3 separate regions of the Homo sapiens genome follow, and all the other regions are linked to region 1. The links are contacts of gene promoters, found by promoter capture Hi-C in blood cells and fetal thymus (Javierre and others, 2016). All regions are on one chromosome and are shown on one strand. Each heading gives the region's core, a stretch centred on a gene start or on the middle of the fragment in contact. The rest is flanking DNA. Distances are from core to core; before and after follow the strand shown.

Region 1 (3,889 bases), core at 889-3,388:
GTGGTCCTTTAGGTTCTTTAGCAAGTAAACTATTTGATAACCCAGATGGATTGTGGATTTTTGAATATTATTTTAAAATAGTACACATACTTAATGTTCATAAGATCATCTTCTTAAATAAAACATGGATGTGTGGGTATGTCTGTACTCCTCCTTTCAGAAAGTGTTTACATATTCTTCATCTACTGTGATTAAGCTCATTGTTGGTTAATTGAAAATATACATGCACATCCATAACTTTTTAAAGAGTATGATTCAACGTAATATTTGCTAATATGTGACTGGGTTTTCTTGGTTTATGTAAGACGATAGGTCCCTGTTGAGGATGTGGAGGTCTGGACCCTCTTCCAGGAAAAATTCTAACATACAATTTTGCGTATACTATAATTTCAGGAAATTTATTGTTTCCCAAGCTCATCCAAGGACTCTTTAGGTATGTATGGATACCTGGCTAAGAGTGTATGATGTAGGGGATGTAGGAGTGTCAGAAATGTTCAAAACATGATTTCTGTTACCTATACATGATTCTTATATCATCTGGCAATAAAAGCTATAACAAAGTACACAAAGGAATCATCATTGGGCATCAATAATTATTAAAGATGCTGGTGAAAAGAAAAGACAACTTCAGTTTCATAAACACTAAAGAACCAAAAATACATGACCTAGCTAATTATACAATAATTCTTCAAATTAAAAACTTCCTAGCAGGATATTATGTGCCTTTTTATAATTTTAGAAGATGAACAGTTAAAATAGAAAATGGAGTGGTCAAGTTAGCCATCTCATACTCAAATTATTGTACAGTTCTATTTCTATGTGTTGGCAGTGCATTTTATGTGACAAAAAGTAGAATGTAGGGGGAGGTTTAAGTCAAATATCTATGTGATCTTTTCACTTATAATTTGCATTTAGTTAAGGAGTGACTATCTTGCCTTTTACCTTTGTGCTGGCGGTGGTTTTTTAAAGAATCAATTTGGTGTACAAATCCTTTCTTTCTTTTTTTATTTTTGATTTTTTTTGAGATGGAGTTTCGCTCTTGTTGCCCAGGCTGTAGTGCCATTGCACTATCTCAGCTCATTGCAACCTCCGCCTCCCGGATTTAAGCGGTTCTCCTGCCTCAGCCTTCTAAGTAGCTGCGATTACTGGCATGCGCCACCACACCCAGCTAATTTTTGTATTTTTAGTAGAGACGGGGTTTCTCCATGTTGGTCAGGCTGGTCTCAAACTCCCGACCTCAGGTGATCCACACGCCTCAGCCGCCCAAAGTGCTGGGATTACAGGCGTGAGCCTCCGCGCCCGGCCCAAATCTTTTCACCATGGGTTTACAGGCATAACGCCACCACACCCAGGGAATTTTAAAATTGTTTTTTAGAGAGGGGGGTCTTACTATTTTGCTCAGGCTGGCAAACTCCTTTTAAAAGATATTGAAAGCCATCTGGTTTATTATTTTTATTTCAAAATATAATAATGGAAGAAATTTTACAGTATTATATACAATTTACTGAGTCAGCTATCAGTTCCTTTTTCTGATTTTTTTCTAGTTGCCATTCTTGATATTTTCTAGGTAATCTAAACTGAGTTGTATTTTCAAGTACTCTTAAAATACTTTAAAAAATTTTAAATTGAGCCGTTTAATTCTTTGCTTAAAGGTGATGGGTATTTTATTTTCTGTATGGCACCACGTGATTTTAAATTGAACTCTTCATTTATTAGTCATTTGGTTATAAACTCAGCATAGATTGCGCAGAATTTTGAGAGGGGAGAAACTATAGCTTTCCTTTCGGATGCCACTGGTGGGTAGCCTGTTTTGCCTGTTTGTTCTTATGTTAAAGAAGGGCTCTACGTCCTGTCTGGAAAGGGCGGAGCTGGCTCGGACCGCCCCACTGCCTTTCCCAGGACCTTCACTCGTCCTGTCCCACCGCAGCCCCGCCTCCTCCACGCCGGGTGAGCTGTGGCCTAGCAGCATCCGAGGCTCCGCCCCCCCCACCCCCAAGCGTCTGCGCTCTAGCGAAGGGGCGGAGCAGGGCGGTGGCGCGCTGACACCTGGCGGCGGCGGAGGGCGGGCAGAAGGCGAGCGTGGGCTGGGATTGGCTGAGGCGACGCGGGTGGAGGGGGCGGGAAGGAGGCGGGGAGACGGTTGTCGGGCTGGTTCCTGTGCTGGATCCTGGGCGGCCTGAGGGGTACGGAGACTCTGGGGGAGGGAGACGGCAGCGGCATGGCGGCCGGGTGTAAGACGCCCGACCCTCCTCTTCCCTGTCTTCGCCGCCGCCGCTGCTGGAGTCACTGGGACCCTGTAGTCTGCGTGTGTTAGTTGTAATCCCGCCGCCCTCCTGTCAGCCCTCCGCTCCGCCGGCCCTCCTTCCTTCCGCCGCCGCAGCCAGCCCGAGGGTCGGCCGGCTGTGTAACACTCTCCCACCCCACCCACCAGCCCGCGGGCCAGCACCATGGAGGACGTGAAGCTGGAGTTCCCTTCCCTTCCACAGTGCAAGGAAGACGCCGAGGTGAGTCGCTCCCGTGGCTGCCACGCACAGGCCTCTCCCTGTGGCTCCGGCCGAGGGGCGACCCCAGTCCCCAACCGTCTTAGCCGCCACCTGTACGGGCGCCCTGCCTCCTAAGGGCGTCCCGGGACCTCTGAAGCCGAGCGGTCGGCTCCAATCCCCACTGAGTTGCTCGTCCTCTCCAGACCCCGCGGAGGGGCAGCGTCTGGTGTACTTACATTTGAGAAGAGGAAAAGCAATCCCTTAGTCCCTAGGCTTGGCATCCAGGACTGACCTGGAGTAAGGTTCCTCTTTTATTGTCAAAGTAACAAGAGAGCGAAGTTGGTTTAGTCTCCTTTTGAGGAATATCTGTGGTGTAAACGATTCACTTGTGGGACACATGGCCCCACATGTGAAATAGACTCGGCGCCTGAAGTTTGGAAGCGCGCCTTCGAAAAGTTTCCCAAAGTTTTTTGTTTGTTTTTAGACAAAGCTATGACCCGCACAACAAAGTGTCTCAAAGCTAGCTCATCTTAATCTGAGAACTCTTAATCAGAAATCTTGACCTTTGGAGGAAAATTAATATTGAAAGTAAAATACTATATACCTTTTCTCCTGGTTTCTAATTTGTGGCTATTTTTACTCCACCTTAGATCCCTGCCTGCTGTTTCTACTCGGATTTTTTTTCATCTGTTGCTAGTTTAACATTTTACGGCATTGCAGACTACTAAATTAGAATTTTCTGGAGGCTAAATTAACAAGACGAAGATACTCAGCTATACTTTAGTAGGATTAAGAAAGAAAATCTAACATCGCTAGTTAAAAATACCTTTAAAGTAGTTGGGAAAAATAAAGCCCTATTTTTAGGAGACCATTCAATTTATTCCGAATATTTATTCTATTGAATATCTTCATTGGAGGTTCACTTTTTTTTTTTTTTTTTTTTTGAGACGGAGTCTTGCTCTGTCGCCAGGCTGGAGTGCAATGTGGCGCGATCTCGGCTCACTGCAACCTCCGCCTTCCGGGTTCAAGCGATTCTCCTGCCTCAGCCTCCTGAGTAGCTGGAACTACAGGCGCGCACCACCACGCCCAGCTAATTTTTGTGTTTTTAGGGGAGACGGGTTTCACCATTTTGGCCAGGGTGGTCTCGATCTCCTGACCTTGTGATCCGCCCGACTCGGCCTCCCAAAGTGCTGAAATTGCAGGTATGAGCCACCGCGCCCGGCCTAGGTTCACATTTTTGTTTGGAGGGCTCTCTTGTGGTATTGATGCTTGACAATTACATTTGTTTTAAGAGTAGAGACTTTGTTTGTGACTATCACTGTTGCAAAATGTAGTGCAGTGGTGTGATCTCGGTTCACTGCAGTCTCGAACTCCCATGCTCAAGCCATCCTTTCACCTCAGCCTCT
Region 2 (3,889 bases), core at 757-3,256, 450 kb before region 1:
CGACTTCAGATGGGCGAGGGCATCCAGATTAAACAGCTGAGTCCAGTGTAAGGTGTCTTCCTAAATGCACTAGATTGGAGTGGCTGAGCCTGCTGAAATGCTCTACAGAGAAGAAAGTAGAACAGTAAGGAAATGATTATGGGAAAAATGCATCTTCTCCAGGAGATGCTCTCTGATTGCCTCGAATGGGTCCAGTCTCTTATCCATATCCCTTCTTACTAATGTTGAGTTTGCACGCTTCCTGTTCCATTAGAGTCCATTTATCCTAAAATGTATTTAGAATTGTAGGCATAGAGAATGTAATGGAAAAAAGAAAAAAGTGGCCAGCCTTAGGCAGAGTGGAAAGCAATGGTTGTGCTGATCTAGAGATCAGTGTTGGCTGAATGGGAGGAAAAGCTGTTGTTTGAGGCACTTTGCAGGGCTCCAAGGAGGCTACAGAGACCTCAGGGAAGATCAAGACAAGAGGAGTTGGTTGGACCTAGGTAAGGCAGCCTTATATTTTTGTGCATGTTTTTGCCTTCTAGATTGAACAAGAAAAAAAAAAAGGATGTCAACCATGAAAAAGTAACAATTTGTGCTAAAAATAAGTATAGCAATTTACATGAGTTGAACAGTATTTTTTTCCAAGTCATCTCAGGTCTTTTCATTGTCATATTTCCAATCTCTTCACATTGATTAAAAGCTTCCATTCTATTGGTGTCTCCATACATATGACATTTCACAGGTGTGACTTATTTCTGAGAGAACTAATAGGAGAAGATAGGAAGCAGGGAGAAGAAAGAAAGGAGAACTGAAGAAAGTAAGTGCAAGGACACTAGCTAGAAAGAGATTCTGTATTTATGAAAGCATGCTGACCCTGTTTCTAAAAGATTCAGCAGATCTTCATGGCCTGGCAGGGACCTAGAAACTTGAGCCCAGCAGGTAGAATAGCCTTCAGGGACTTAATCAGACTGGGTCTCCGACAAGTACTCAGCTTCCTTCCCACCTCCCAGGTCTGGCCACACCCCACCTTCCCAGCTCCCCACTTGCACCCATCAGCTGCTGTGGCCTTAGCTACTTGTAAATGTACCAAAAATGGGTGTTCCAAGCTAAGCTGTCATGTTCTTACAGTAACTTAGGTGAAGTAAGTGAATCCATTGCTGCCATTAACCTTTCCACATCATAATGGAATGTTTTTCTTCAAAACAGTATCGCGCTTACTATGGAGCATTTAAGGATGTCAAGGAGAAAAACAGGACCTCTGAAGAAGCAGAAGACCTCCGAGCCTTGCGATTTCTATCTGTGATTTCAATTGTGGACCCTTGGATTTTTATCATTTTCAGATCTCCAGTATTTCGGATATTTTTTCACAAGATTTTCATTAGACCTCTTAGGTACAGGAGCCGGTGCAGCAATTCCACTAACATGGAATCCAGTCTGTGACAGTGTTTTTCACTCTGTGGTAAGCTGAGGAATATGTCACATTTTCAGTCAAAGAACCATGATTAAAAAAAAAAAGACAACTTACAATTTAAATCCTTAAAAGTTACCTCCCATAACAAAAGCATGTATATGTATTTTCAAAAGTATTTGATATCTTAACAATGTGTTACCATTCTATAGTCATGAACCCCTTCAGTGCATTTTCATTTTTTTATTAACAGCAACTAAAATTTTATATATTGTAACCAGTGTTAAAAGTCTTAAAAAACAATGGTATTAATTGTCCCTACATTTGTGCTTGGTGGCCCTATTTTTTTTTTTTAGAGAGGCCTTGAGACATACAGGTCTTTTAAAATACAGTAGAAACACCACTGTTTACGATTATACGATGGACATTCATAAAAAGCATAATTTCTTACCCTATTCATTTTTTGGTGAAACCTGATTCATTGATTTTATATCATTGCCGATGTTTAGTTCATTTCTTTGCCAATTGATCTAAGCATAGCCTGAATTATGATGTTCCTCAGAGAAGTGAGGTGGGAAATATGACCAGGTCAGGCAGTTGGAGGGGCTTCCCCAGCCACCATCGGGGAGTACTTGCTGCCTCAGGTGGAGACCTGAAGCTGTAACTAGATGCAGAGCAAGATATGACTATAGCCCACAACCCAAAGAAGCAAAAATTCGTTTTTATCTTTTGAAATCCAGTTTCTTTTGTATTGAGTCAAGGGTGTCAGTAGGAATCAAAAGTTGGGGGTGGGTTGCAAAATGTTCTTTCAGTTTTTAGAACCTCCATTTTATAAAAGAATTATCCTATCAATGGATTCTTTAGTGGAAGGATTTATGCTTCTTTGAAAACCAGTGTGTGACTCACTGTAGAGCCATGTTTACTGTTTGACTGTGTGGCACAGGGGGGCATTTGGCACAGCAAAAAGCCCACCCAGGACTTAGCCTCAGTTGACGATAGTAACAATGGCCTTAACATCTACCTTAACAGCTACCTATTACAGCCGTATTCTGCTGTCCGTGGAGACGGTAAGATCTTAGGTTCCAAGATTTTACTTCAAATTACACCTTCAAAACTGGAGCAGCATATAGCCGAAAAGGAGCACAACTGAGCACTTTAATAGTAATTTAAAAGTTTTCAAGGGTCAGCAATATGATGACTGAAAGGGAAAAGTGGAGGAAACGCAGCTGCAACTGAAGCGGAGACTCTAAACCCAGCTTGCAGGTAAGAGCTTTCACCTTTGGTAAAAGAACAGCTGGGGAGGTTCAAGGGGTTTCAGCATCTCTGGAGTTCCTTTGTATCTGACAATCTCAGGACTCCAAGGTGCAAAGCCTGCTGCATTTGCGTGATCTCAAGACCTCCAGCCAGAAGTCCCTTCCAAATATAAGAGTACTCATGTTTATTTATTTCCAACTGAGCAGCAACCTCCTTTGTTTCACTTATGTTTTTTCCAGTATCTGAGATAATATAAAGCTGGGTAATTTTTTATGTAATTTTTTGGTATAGCAAAACTGTGAAAAAGCCAAATTAGGCATACAAGGAGTATGATTTAACAGTATGACATGATGAAAAAAATACAGTTGTTTTTGAAATTTAACTTTTGTTTGTACCTTCAATGTGTAAGTACATGCATGTTTTATTGTCAGAGGAAGAACATGTTTTTTGTATTCTTTTTTTGGAGAGGTGTGTTAGGATAATTGTCCAGTTAATTTGAAAAGGCCCCAGATGAATCAATAAATATAATTTTATAGTATTTTGCAGAGGAAATTACTTTTCTTTAAATGAAAGAAAAGGGCTTGGCTTTCTTTTTAGTAGACAGTTGCCAGCAATATTTCATTGTCTGGCAGTTTCCTAGTGTGGATTTTTATATACTGTCCGATTAACACTTACATTACTTTAAACAAGCTTTCATTACTTTACTTACATTTCATTACTTTACATTACTTTAAACAAGCTTAGGTAAGTCCTTAGACTCACCTAAGGACCTAGTGCTCCTTTTTGTTTCATACAAAATGTAGATATACCATCTGGATGAAGTCTGTGTTGAGTTAAAACCAACTCTTCGGTAATCTGTATAGATTTATTCATTAATTCATTAAATAATTTACAGAGACCTTGTGCCAAGCAGTTGATTAGGGGCTGAGGAAAGGAATAAAAATAAGACTCAATCATGGTTCATGAGTTGCTCGTTGTCCACTGGGGTAGAGAGGAATGTCAACAGTTAGGATACAGCATAGAAATTCTCCATAGTATTGCGAGTACGCATTTACTATTAGAAGAGGAGGCCCAAACTAGGGACCACGTGTAGGGTTGTCAGGAGAACTTCACAGGAAGAAGATGCATTGAAAGTCAAGTATTGAAAACGAGTAGGAATTTTGACTCTGAAAACTGAAAAGAACACAGAGAAAGTTTACATAAGAGAAAATACATATGGTTAATAAATGTAGAAAAATATTCAGC
Region 3 (3,889 bases), core at 572-3,071, 440 kb before region 1:
CAGCCAGCAAGGAATAGAAGCTCTTAGTCCCACAACCCAGGAGGAACCAAATCCTCCAACAACCACATGAATGTTCTTGGAAGTGGATCCTTCCTTCCAAGTACAGCTTTGAGCCGACTGCTACCCCAGCCAATGTCTTGACTGCAGCCTTATGAGAGACCTGAGCTAGGGGACCCAGCTAAGCTGCACCCAGATTCCTCACCCACAGAAATCGTGAGGTGAGAAAATGTTGTTTCATGCTGCTACATTTTGGGGTGATTTTTTTCAGCAGTCATAGATAACTAATATAATTCATTGAATTATAATTAAATTAATGGGCATCCCATTATATATGAATCCATAGCATATTTTGTTGACAAATATGATACAAGAAATATTTATAAGCTCTGATTATATACTAGGCTACAAGAAAAATCTCAATAAATATAAGAAAGCAGAAATTAACAGTTTATTTTCTTCGATTAGGAAATACATTTTTATTTAAGTTAAAACCAAAAAGTCTCTCTGATTACATGGAAATTTTTCTTCTTTTTGTATGCATTATACATACTAAATTGTGTGTACAACATGCATATGCAGTTAAATAGTAATTATAAAGTAAATATCCATGTAGACATTGTGCAGGTCAAGAAACGGAATACTGCCAGTACCAGAAGCCTCCTGTGTGCCTTCCCTGATCACAGTCCCTCCCCCTCACCGAGATAAACCCTGTTCCGACTTTTAAGAAATCATGCTTTTGCTTTTCTTTATCTTACCCCATGTGTGCATCATAATATATGTATTCAGTGTCTTTTTCTCAAGCTTAGTAATGTGTCTTAGCTTGGATTCCTCACATGCAGTCTAGGACAAAGAGTCAGGTGCATGTGACCTGTGGAGCTCCTGCTTTCGGGAGAAAAGCGGTGAAAGCAGCAGGACAGGGCAGGGACGGAATCAAGGCAAGGATGAGGTCTCAGCTCTGCCTGATCTCAAGGGGGGGCTCTGGAGCTTGAATAGCACCACACTGTTGGTCCCACCAAGACACTTGTGAAAGCCTGTTACTAAGTTTTTGGCCCACGTGTTCCCGGTGGTACCCTTTGAGCCAAGGGCAATTTTCCAGAAAAGGGGCCAGCTCTGAGCCATTAGAAACCATAACCCACAGGGGCTGGGGGCAATGGCTTGGAAAAGGAGATCTGGATGATATTCACCATATAGTATGTTTGTGAGATTCATACTTTTTGTACGTGTAGCTGAGTTCCTATATTTTCATGGCCAAATAGTATTCCATGGTATGAATATATCGCATGCTGTCAATGGACATTTGGGGTATTTCTAGATTTGCCTACTAGAAATAATGCTGTTTTATGATTCAAGGGGCAAAAAAAGAAAAGAAAAATAAACAATGCTGTTTTAACTGTTCTTATTATGTCTTGTGTTGGACATGTGTACGAGTATCTCTAAGGCATACATCTAGGAGTGGGATTGCAGGGTTATAGGATATGTGCACCTTTTATTATATCATAAAAATTGTTTTCCAATTTACACTAACACCAGCATTGTTTTCATTGCTCTACATCTTTGCTAACACTTGTATTGTTAGATTTTTAGTTTTAGCCATTTTGGTAAGTTTGTAATGGTATTTCATTGAGGTTTTAATGTATTTTTCATATTAATAATGATGATATTGCACACCTTCTCATACATTTATTGGCTGTTTGGAAATTCTAGTTTATAAAGCTTCTGTTCAAGTCTTTTGCCTTTTTAAAAAATATAATGTTTGTTTTTCATATTGATTTATAGATGTCCTAACTACTGTTACTTTGTCAGTTTTATGTGTTGGAAAAATCTTTTCCCATTCTTTAATCTGTCTTTTCACTCTCTTTTTGATGACTTTTAATTAATAGAAATTTTTATTTTATTAGAATCTAATTTCTTAAACTTTTCTTTTATGGCTAAGCTTTTCATGTTTTATTTGAGAAATGTTTTCTAAACCTAAAATCATGAAATATTTTTCTATACTACTTTATAAAAGCTTTATAGTTTTGCCTTTCACTCTTGAATTTGAACCCACCTATGATTTATTTGGTGTATGGTGTGATATAAATATCCAGTTTTGTACTTTCACCATATAAATAACCACTTGTCCAAGTATCATTTATCAAAAAGTTTATCTTTTCCCCATTGATCTTAAATATCATATCTGTCACATATGAAGTTTCCATATTTGTATGTTTGTTTCTATTCCATTGGCCTGTTGTCTTAGGTACATTAATGCTTCCACCTAGCTCTCTTTGAAGGGGGCCCTTTTAATCTTAGTGCTTTAGTTCCACCAAAACCTGCTGGGATTTTCACTGGAATTGCACTGAATCTATTGATTAATTTTGTATACTTTTCAATTTATTTATGTCCTTTTCAATGTCTCTTTATAAAAGTTTCAAAATTTTACTGAAGTATAACATGCATACAGAGAAATATACGAATTATAAGTAGACAGTGAAATGAATTTTCACAAAGCAATACACCTAAGTTACTAATATCCAGATTAAAAAAAAAAAAAACAAAAAACACAGAATCCCAAACCCCTCCAAAATCCCTTTTTTAGCTACTGACTTCACCCACAAGAGGAAACCACCTTGAGTTCTAATACATGAATTTTGTCCACTTTTGAACTTTATATAAATGGAATCAGTATGTACTTGTTTTCTTTCACTCAGCAGTATGCTTGTGAAATCCGTCCGTGTTGTTCAGAGTTATATTTTGTTTATTCTCTTTGCTGTAGTGTTCTACTGTACGAATTCCACCGTATGAATTTACCACAATATATTAATCTATCTATTGCAGATGGACATTTGAGTTATTTCTAATTGAACCTATTACAAATAGTAATAAGCAGCCGGGCGCACTGGCCCATGCCTGTAATCCCAGCATTTTGGGAGGCCAAGGTGGGTGGATCACCTGAGGTCAGGAGTTTGAGAACAGCCTGGCCAACATGGTGAAAACCCGTCTCTACTAAAAATACAAAAAAATAAAGTTAGCCAGGTGTGGTGGCAGGCACCTGTAATCCCAGCTACTCAGGAGGCTGAGGCAAGAGAATCGCTTGAACTCGGGAAGCGGAGGTTGCAGTGAGCTAAGATCACGCTACTGAACTCCAGCCTGGGCAACAAGAGCGAAACTCTGTCTCAAAGAAAAAAAAAAAAAGTAATAAGCATCCTTTCACACATCTTTTGGGAACATACATATGCATTTCTATTAAGGATATAACTGAATGTAATTGCTAGGTCATAAGTTTTGCCCTTAGTAAATACTGCCAAGGGGTCTTCCAAAGTGGATTGTGTCAGTTCATACTTCCACAGCAATGTATAAAGGCCGAGTTGATCCACATGCTCATCAATACTTCCTATTGTCTTTCTAGTTCGGTTTAGCCGTTCTGGGGGTATCGAGTGGTATCACATTGTGGCTTTAATGTGCATATCCCTGATCCACACCTTTTCCTATGTTTATTGTCCTTTGCATATCCCTGTCTGTGAAGGATCTGTCCAGGTCTTTTCTCCACTTTTCTATTCAGTTATCTGTCTTTTGCTTATTGAATTTCAAGAGTTTCATTATCTGAATCTATTAGGTTCTTGACTTTGTGACACTACATGGCAAAATTTTGCCTAGTGTGGAAATCCTAATGCATCCAAATCTATTTGGTTCCTGGAGTTCAAAATGAAAATGTAGATAATGAAGGATACCTGAAGTCACTGTAGGTCTATTCCTGCTGATTCTGACTGATGTTACCTTATCTTCTGGTGAGCTTGGGTATTATGAGAACATGTATTCTGGAGATTCTCTGATGCCTAAAATGATGGTGCCTTCCTCCAGAGGGGATGTGCACTCTCCAGGCCCCTAGGGTCAGTCCAGGACTTCTTTA

Evidence for each region. Contacts are between HindIII fragments. The CHiCAGO score rates a contact against its expected background, and 5 or more counts as called.
Region 2: a fragment that was not itself captured here is called in contact with the fragment with the promoter of STYX in region 1 in 1 of 17 cell types (total CD8 T cells); the score reaches 5.8 in total CD8 T cells.
Region 3: a fragment that was not itself captured here is called in contact with the fragment with the promoter of STYX in region 1 in 1 of 17 cell types (total B cells); the score reaches 9.8 in total B cells.

What each region holds. Positions count from the first base shown.
Region 1 is chr14:52,728,028-52,731,916 of GRCh38, forward strand. It overlaps STYX (serine/threonine/tyrosine interacting protein), which reads left to right and starts at 2,139. Exons shown (of 11, transcript NM_145251.4): 1 at 2,139-2,504. The coding sequence starts at 2,448. It overlaps PSMC6 (proteasome 26S subunit, ATPase 6), which reads left to right. Exons shown (of 14, transcript NM_002806.5): 14 at 1-563. RefSeq lists silencers at 1,824-2,283, 2,354-2,433. The HindIII fragment of the contact is 7,384 bases long and covers 1-3,889 here.
Region 2 is chr14:52,273,543-52,277,431 of GRCh38, forward strand. It overlaps PTGDR (prostaglandin D2 receptor), which reads left to right. Exons shown (of 2, transcript NM_000953.3): 2 at 1,189-3,182. The coding sequence ends at 1,422. Among named protein-coding and RNA genes, the nearest start is that of PTGDR, 7.8 kb to the left of the region's middle. The HindIII fragment of the contact is 2,652 bases long and covers 681-3,332 here.
Region 3 is chr14:52,290,698-52,294,586 of GRCh38, forward strand. No RefSeq gene overlaps it. Among named protein-coding and RNA genes, the nearest start is that of PTGER2, 22 kb to the right of the region's middle. The HindIII fragment of the contact is 220 bases long and covers 1,712-1,931 here.